2 separate regions of the Homo sapiens genome follow, and region 2 is linked to region 1. The links are contacts of gene promoters, found by promoter capture Hi-C in human tissues and cell types (Jung and others, 2019). All regions are on one chromosome and are shown on one strand. The core of a region is centred on a gene start or on the middle of the fragment in contact, and the rest is flanking DNA. Distances in the headings are between cores, read along the strand shown. Region 1 holds the start of TTC23L (tetratricopeptide repeat domain 23 like). Region 2 overlaps RAI14 (retinoic acid induced 14).

Evidence for each region. The method cuts DNA at HindIII sites, captures the fragments that hold promoters and counts their contacts. A contact is called where the count stands out against the background at its distance.
Region 2: a contact is called between a fragment that was not itself captured here and the fragment with the promoter of TTC23L in region 1, in 1 of the 25 tissues and cell types used here (small bowel).

Annotation. Positions count from the first base shown.
Region 1 is chr5:34,837,160-34,841,308 of GRCh38, forward strand. It overlaps TTC23L (tetratricopeptide repeat domain 23 like), which reads left to right and starts at 2,005. Exons shown (of 11, transcript NM_144725.4): 1 at 2,005-2,100; 2 at 3,506-3,580. The coding sequence starts at 3,513. It overlaps TTC23L-AS1 (TTC23L antisense RNA 1), which reads right to left and starts at 2,173. Exons shown (of 2, transcript NR_183259.1): 1 at 2,024-2,173; 2 at 388-1,858. RefSeq lists an enhancer at 2,295-2,404. The HindIII fragment of the contact is 9,286 bases long and covers 1-4,149 here.
Region 2 is chr5:34,790,863-34,795,224 of GRCh38, forward strand. The region is part of intron 3 of RAI14 (retinoic acid induced 14); the gene reads left to right. Among named protein-coding and RNA genes, the nearest start is that of TTC23L, 46 kb to the right of the region's middle. The HindIII fragment of the contact is 7,860 bases long and covers 1-4,362 here.

The DNA of each region.
Region 1 (4,149 bases), core at 755-3,254:
ATATACTACAACTAAAGCTTACATTTGGGGGACAGGGTTAACATGACAAGGAAAGAAATACCAAAAAACTTCAAGAGTCCTCAAAGTTCTGGCTGGACGGTGGCTCACACCTGTAATCCCGGCACTTTGGGAGGCTGAGGCAGGCAGATCACCTGAGGTCAGGAGTTCGAGACTAGCCTGGCCAACACAGTGAAACCCTGTCTCTACTAAAAATACAAAAACTAGACAGACAGTAGTGGCACACATCTGTAATCCCAGCTACTCGGGAGGCTGAGGCAGCAGAATTGCTTGAACCCGGGAGGCGGAGGTTGCACTGAGCCAAGATCACACCACTGCACTCCAACCTGGGCCACAGAGTGAGACTCTGTCTCAAAAAAAGAAAAAAAATAGTCGCCAAAGTTATTTTATTTTGATTTATAATTTTTACAGATGCAGGCAACATGCTTCCGGTCAGAGCTAATGAAATGGAGGCCGAATTAGAGCGTTGGCTTTAGGAATGGGAATTCAGTGCCTGTTCTGGTTCTTCTCTCCACAATTATCAGCAAAAGCAAAGGTTTAGAAAAGAGACATTACCTTTAATATACTTAGAAACAATCTCACAGCCATTTCCTAGAATGAAAGAACATTAAAACCTTTCAATTTGATGACCAACTTAACAAGGGGTAAAAGAAATAAATGTTGGAGAACAGGAAACAGGTTCTTCCTTTTTACTCCCATACATGTTAAATACTGTTCATAGAGTCACAAAAATCGTTTACCCCTTACAGAAACCTGGAACCAGAAGGCGCTTCAGAAAGCAAGTGGTACAAAAACTTTCACCGTATAGGCAAGAAAATTGGGACCCACTGGCCGTGACTCGGCCCAGGCTACAGAGTCAAAACCAGAACCTTGACATTCTGAAATCAGGTTCATTGCTGTCATCATTGTTCCATGCTGAGAGTTTTCTTAGGAAAAAGAATAAAGTGGGGGAATCTTTCCAAAATTGTGACTATGGAGCTCGAAAGTACAGATTTAAATCTTGAGTTAACAGACCATACAGGTTTTACTTAAGAGATATTCAAGCAAACTCATTTAAATAACTCCTCCAACCTAACTCCAAAAAGGCTTTCTTGGCAGTCTTGGATCAATGGCAATTAAACTTCCAGCCTAGAGCTGGAAATAACAAACACCAAACGTAAACACCATCTTTCACATTCTCAATGTTCTCCTTGTCTCTCTACCTAGTCTGCTCTTTTCTGAAAACAACTGGGACACATTCACTCCAACTTGACTTGCCATAGGCCTAGTCTATGATAGGGTTCATAATAACATCCTTCAACATAGCGTTGCAAGAGCTGGCGCTGTTTCTTTGGGTATGGCCACAATTGCCTCTGCACCTTGTGTGTATTACACACACTGTATTCCATGCCAACGAAAGGGTAAGATATGGCTGCATTATTTAGGGCTAAGTGCTAAATAAATAATGAACAGCTAACCATTAGCAGATCTAGTAGTCGATTTCTTACCCTACTCTCTTCCTGCAATCAGCTTTCCTAACCATGCCTAGCTCCAATCTTACTGGGTAACACAGACGGTGCCAGCACAGTCAACAGCCATATCTAAGCCTTTCCTCTGGGGTCCATAAAAACAAAACTCCCGAGGAGCTGTGGGGGTGCACCGTGGCCAGGATCGTCGCCGAATACAGCCCGCACACGTCGCAGCTTTAAATAAGTAGGGCCGTGGGGCCCGGCGCTCCCTTCCATCCTTGGACGGAATGTATCTTCTCTTCCTACGCCTTCACCTCCGAGGGGTAAGGTCTCGTGAGATACAATATGCAGAGGCCAGTTTTGGGGCGAGCCGGAGGCCGGGCGCGTCTAACCTGCGGGGAAGGGAAAGCGGAGGGTAAGGCAAGGGCTGCTGTAGGCGCCAGACAACAGGGACTCTCCGAACCGGAAGTGCCCCGCGTCGCCATGGCTACAGGCGCTCCCAGCAGAACCCGTAGCGTTCCGTTCCCATGGCAACGGTATTGTCTCCTTGGCCGGACCTGGGCTGCGGAAGGTAACTGGGGACGTCGCAGGCTGTGCAGCTTTCGCGAGGCACCGCTTTGGCGCCCGGACCGAGGTGCGCCAGGGTCAGGAGGCCGACGCAGCGGGAGGAAGCCGCGCCGTCGGGCTCAGGGAGCTGGGAGGCTGGTTCCGGGGCGTGGTTTCTCCGCCTTGAGCCAGGTGCCCTTTGCGCACTCGCGCGTTCTCTTAGAGCCTCCGCGGCAGAGAGGCTCTCAGAGCTCGACCTGCGGCGTCAGGGCTTACAGACTTGCCGCAGAACCACAGCGGGAAAAGAGGAGCGATTCGTCCTTGAGGGGCTCAGGGCCGTGCGGAACGTCATAGGAACAGAGTCCGGGAGTTTGAGAGATCAGAACTCTTTGCTGTGGGCATAGTGTTTAAAGTGGAGGTTAAAAAGAGAAATTAGTGACTCTCCCTTTCTGATTTTCGGATAATGGATGCTCTGGAGCCTGGGTCAGAAAGCCACTCAGGGCTCGGTGGGAATTAGTGATTCTGGAGGGTGAAAGGAGAGGCGACTTGGTGGATGTTAACATTCAATAAGTAACTGCGTTCGATTTGGGTTTGATTTAAGCGACTGGCATAGCCTTCCTTGAGAGTTGAATTTCACAAATACTGTATTTAGAAATCACATTTTTCGTTTTGTGCTTCCGAGGTTTCTCCTATCATCTAACAGCAACAACTAAAACAGACACATGAATTTCATTTTATTGTTTTATTTTATTTTGAGACGGAGTCTCGCTCTGTCGCCCAGGCTGGAGTGCAGTGGCGCGATCTCCGCCTCCCGGGTTCAAGCGATTCTCCTGCCTCAGCCTCCCGAGTAGCTGGAACTACAGGCGTGCACCACCACAGCCGACTATATTTTGTATTTTTAGTAGAGACGGGGTTTCACCCTGTTGGCCAGGCTGGTCTCGAACTCCTGAACTCGGGTGATCCACCCGCCTCGGCTTCCCACAGTGCTGGGATTACAGGCGTGAGCCTCTGTACCCGCCTCGTGACCCCTGTACTAGAATCTGCTATTAATTAGTGAAATGACCCCGGGGGGGGGGGGGAAAGCAGAATTAACCAATACACTGGCTGTGCTTCGTTTACCACTGAGAGTTGGTTGCTTTGCTTAAATCCAACACGCCGTCAGACCTGCAAAAACAATATCTGAGTTAAGTAGGTGACCATAGTTTTGATGACCCAGGAACTGTAAATGTGCTTGCTTTGAGACATAAAGGCCAGGGATTTTGGAGAAGTAGGGTGGAGTTGAAATTAGGGGAAAGAAATTTAACTTAGACATTTAATTTGGCAAATGTCTGTTTTCCAGCGGTCTCCATATCTAAGTATGCGTAGTCTGTGGATTTAGGATGGGTTATATATTTGAGCAGTTTTAGTTTAATGTTAATAGCAAACCAGAGGGGGAAAATAGAACAGACACCCAGCCTTTTCTCTCAAAGCTGACCTTACCTGATTCTTGGTAGGAAGAAGATGCAAGCCAGCCCCATCCGTATCCCAACTGTTAGCAATGACATCGACTGGGATTTCTGCTTCCATATGTAAGTATCACAGCATTTTGACATCACAGGTACTTACTGGGCTGAAACACTGGGACCTCCTGCTTAAGGCAAACCTGGGTGAGGAGCTTTGCATGAGAAGCGTTCACGACCAGCCTGACCAACATGGTGAAACCCCGTCTCTACTAAAAATACAAAAATTAGCTGCGCGGTAGTGGCACGCGACTGTAATCCCAGCTACTCGGGAGGCTGAGGCAGGAGAATAGCTGAACCCGGAGGCAGAGGTTGTGGTGGGCTGAGATTCCATCACTGCACTCCAGTCTGGGCAATAGAGACCCTGTCTCAAAAAAAAATAAAATAAAATAAAAAAGAAGGTTGTGTTTCTGATGTGCTTTAATAATGATTCTGCTATAATATCTGTTTGTATTTACAACCTATGCATGATAGAAGATTGCTTTTTCCCGACTTAAGGAAATTTTAAAAGTTTTTAAAATAAAAATAGGTTAGTTATAACAAGATTGGCAAAATTGTAGAGAGTTAGCTATAACAAAGTTAATGAGAAAATTTTTATGAAATAGAGTAAATAAAACTTTCGTATCGTCTAATACTTA
Region 2 (4,362 bases), core at 1,815-4,314, 45 kb before region 1:
ATGCCTACAGAACTTATTGAGAATTTCCCCATTGTAGACCACAATTCTAGCATATACTTCAATGAGTAATATGTCAGTGACTCTGATAAAATTAAGTAATTCCATTAGAGTCTGCGTCAAGTAGAATGAATGAAACCTCAGCATGATGGGAGGGTTCAGGAGCTGATACATTTTTGTATTTTCTGAGAGTCTTAATTACATTTTACAAATTACATGGATGGTTGGGTTGGTAAGAAGTATGTGAATTTTGATGGCTTTTTAATTTTGTTTTTGTAGCAGTTGTTTGTATCCATGTGTGTTGGTGCCCATATGTATTGTTTGGGGTTTGGTTATTCTCTCAAAACCAAGTTACCGTAAAAAGTTTGAATTTTAATATTTCTTTATTGAGTAGTGGGACCGTCTAGACTGTGTGCTGGCTCTTACTAAAGTCATTTGTTTTTCTTACCCGTGGAGAGGTGTATTCTTGAACCCTTTAAACGGGTCTCTACTTTGGCCTAAGACCATATTAGAAAACTTTTTTGAAGTCACTTATTATATGCCATATAATTAAAAAGTTATATGGTATATTCTCCCATTACATTTTAGCCACAATGCCCGTATATTAAATAAGCAAACAAACTATATGTGGCAATTAAAACTTAAAAAAAAAAGCCTGAATTGGCTCTTAGAAATATTTAATCAAGTAGTATCCACTAGAACTTAACATTTCATCCTGTGGATCATCACACACAAAATACCCAACCCTGCTGTCATTCAGGGTCCTAGCAGGAACAGGTAGCATCAAATAGGATAATTGATGAGAGCTTAAGAAAGGAACTATTTACAAATATGTGGCCAGATTAGGGGAAACCAGTAAGGTTGGGAATGCCGCCCAGGATTCTAACAAGAGTGAGAATCTATTTCTACTCTTGACCTAAAGGGGCAAGGAGGGAAAGCTGCAGCTGTGGCTGTGGGAGAGCCGGCCTGCAAAGCTGTGGCCTTCACAGAGGAAGACAGCCACTGCCGAGGTATGGCTAGGGAAGGAGGGGAGGAGATGATGCCCTGAACCCCATCGTCATTCTCACTGGGCAAGCCCAACCAGGAGCCAAAGCACAGGGCAGCCCATTGGATGCAGTTCATTAGGGGACTGCCTCTGGGTAGAGGGCAGACCTGGAGGGGCAGAGAGAATGCACAGCGCTAGTGACTATCTCCTCAAGAGCAGACTCACAGACTGTGTTTCCTGGCTTTACTTCCATTTCCCAGAAGCGCATACCCAGTGAGAGGAATGATGATACACAGTGGAGCTCCTTATCTGGAGAGTCTGGAGAAATGAATCATACACTTCTAGCTAAAATGATCAGTTTTTCCCTTTCCTGCTTTTCTTTTCTTTTTTCTTTTTTTTTTTTTTTTGAGACGGAGTCTCTCTCTGTCGCCCAGGCTGGAGTGCAGTGGTGCAATCTTGGCTCACTGCAAGCTCCGCCTCCCTGGTTCACACCATTCTCCTCTCTCAGCCTCCCGAGTAGATGGGACTACAGGTGCCCGACACCACACCTGGCTAATTTTTTTGTATTTTTAGTACAGACGGGGTTTCACTGTGTTAGCCAGGATGGTCTCGATCTCCTGACCTCGTGATCCGCCCACCTCGGCCTCCCAAAGTGCTGGGATTACAGGCGTAAGCCACTGTGCCTGGCCCCTTTCCTGCTTTTCAAGATCATTCCTATGCCTGTGTGTTTTAGAAAGCAGAGCAGAAGCTTTTGTGTGACATCAGAACACAACAAACACCTGGATGTTAGAATTTTCTTGCAGAAACACCTTGAAATAATGTTTAACTGAATCACATGAACTAGCAATGGTTTTACTAGCAAAAAATATGGTATTAGATGCATGCAGTGTAAAATCAAAGCCAAGACTATCTATCCTTATAGAATGAGCTGTTTCTAGTTATTTATATTTGTTTGTACTTTGTCTGTTTTATCTGTAAAAGCAGTAAGTGATGCAGCTTTAGGTAAAATACATGAAGAGAAAATAATGAATTTGGAAAATTCTGTCATTCTGTTTTCTCAGCAGGACACAAGCATTCTGCAGCATAATAGTTGGAAAGTCCCCAGAATAGAGAAAAAAAGTCACTTATTGATCTAAACTCTCAATGGGAGAGGGAGGACAAAATAAAATCTCTCGCTATCACACGATTTATTAAAGCGTATGCAATGAAGCTTTAACTAACTGGATCCCTGAAAATGTATTTCAGCCATCAAATATATAAATTTAGGTTGATATCAGGGATTTTCTTTTACAAAGCTATGTCTAAGAAAATTCTTTTGTGGGACTGGAAATTGAGCGCAGCTTCCTAACACCTCACTTCTGCCTTGTATTGATCGTGGGCCTTCCAAGTGATGATCCTGAAACTCTGCATTTCCCAAATCATTTGTAGAATATCATAACACGTTCATCAGACTGCATTTACCAATGTACAGGAGTGGCCTACAATAATGCTTCACTGTCAGATGGTCTGCAGTTCCAGCCACCCATAAAAGACTATGTAATCCAGAGGTAATCCAAGAAGCCTCAGAGTAGAAAAAAATAAAAATATCACATGGGGAAGGGGGTTAGTAACTAAAAGGGGCATATGGAGAACTTCTGGGGTGCTAGCAGGAGGGTTTTGGGGTCTCTGACCACATTCTGTTTCCTGATTAGTATGAAGGCAAAATATTTCAGTTGCAAAAATTTAGCAAGCTGTACAATTATATGTGTAGCTTTCTTTACATGTTATATTTCAATCAAAAGTTAAATGTAGATAAATATAATTGATTGATTGATTGATTTGGGTGTGTGTATATGCACATGGGCAGTAGACACTTCCTGGTATGGTTATTTTTAGAATGGGATATGGCTACTCTCTTATTTAGATACTTTTGATTTAGTTTTCCTCTTGTCATAGGAGATGGCATAGTGAACAGCTTAGAAACAAACACAAAGACATTAAGAAGCTAAATATTAATCAATTTTAGGGCTTAGTAATCCAGGGGCATTTCAATTAGTATCCCTAAACATGCAATTCAATAATTGAGGAGACTCCATATTCCCAAGAGCAATTAATTATGTTACATGCACTATTACTAAGGCTGGGAAACTTTTAGAAACCTTCCACCAAGATTAATAAAAGACTTACTGCTTAAAGGTGGACTTATTGTAAAATGAAGCTATTCCAACAATGTTGAGAAGTGGAGGAATTATTGCACTGCCAGTATAGTTTGGTTAAGCTATATTGAATGAGGAATTCCATTTAAACAAGTCACTATGGCCAGGCATGGTGGCTCATGCCTGTAATCGCAGCACTTTGGGAGACTGAGGTGTGTGGATCACATGAGGTCAGGAGTTTGAGACCAGCCTGGGTAACATGGTGAAACCCCGTCTCTACTAAAAATACAAAAATCAACTGGGTGTGGTGGCACATGCCTGTAATCCCAGCTATTCAGTAGGCTGAGGCAGGAGAATCACTTGAACCTGAGAGGCGGAGGTTGCAGTGAGCCAAGATCATGCCACTGCACTCCAGCCTAGGCAACAGAATAAGACTCCATCTCAAAAAATATTCAAAAACAAAAAAAAGTCACTACACTCCCAAATCATTGTATGCAAAGTTTTATTGTAATGTGAAATCACTTATAAAATAAATTTTGACTGTAAATAGATATTACACATAGATTGCTGCACAAATACAGAAATAGTTGCGTGAGTAGAGCCAGGTAAGCTAAAATAATTAAACGTTAGAGCCAAGGGAACCATTAGAAATTATTTGACTTGATCCCCAGCCTTTACAATGGAGGAAATTTAGGCACAGAGAGGTTAAAATGACTTCCCAAAACACACAGATAATTATGTTATGGCTGATTTGCAACTAGTACTGAAGTATTCCTATTTGTTGATATGTCCCCCTCACTCAGCCAGGTTATTAAGAGGTCTGGAATCAGACCAACTTGGGTTTAAATATCAGCTATCGGACTTTCCAGTTGAATGTTACCCTGGATTTCAATGATAGATCCTTCCCAGCGAGAAAATATTATCTGGGCATTAATTCAGAGGTACAGACACCAAGGGACTTCATGAGAGGTATCCTGAGGGCACATCCCTAAAACAGGACTGACTCAGGAGAAGAACTAGAAGGCTCATTAACCTCTCTATAGGATGGCAACTGAGAGAAGGGAAACCTGCCCAAATTTTGCAGCCATCTTGGCCTCTGGGCCTGACCACCCAGTGGAATTGTGCTTTGCTTCTTTCTGCATGCAAAAGTGCCCTTCATCCCGGGATCTGGAGGGATGATTGAATTGGCATTTGGATGTTATCCCTTCTTCTAGTGACCAGTCTAAACATGCTGATCATGGTTTG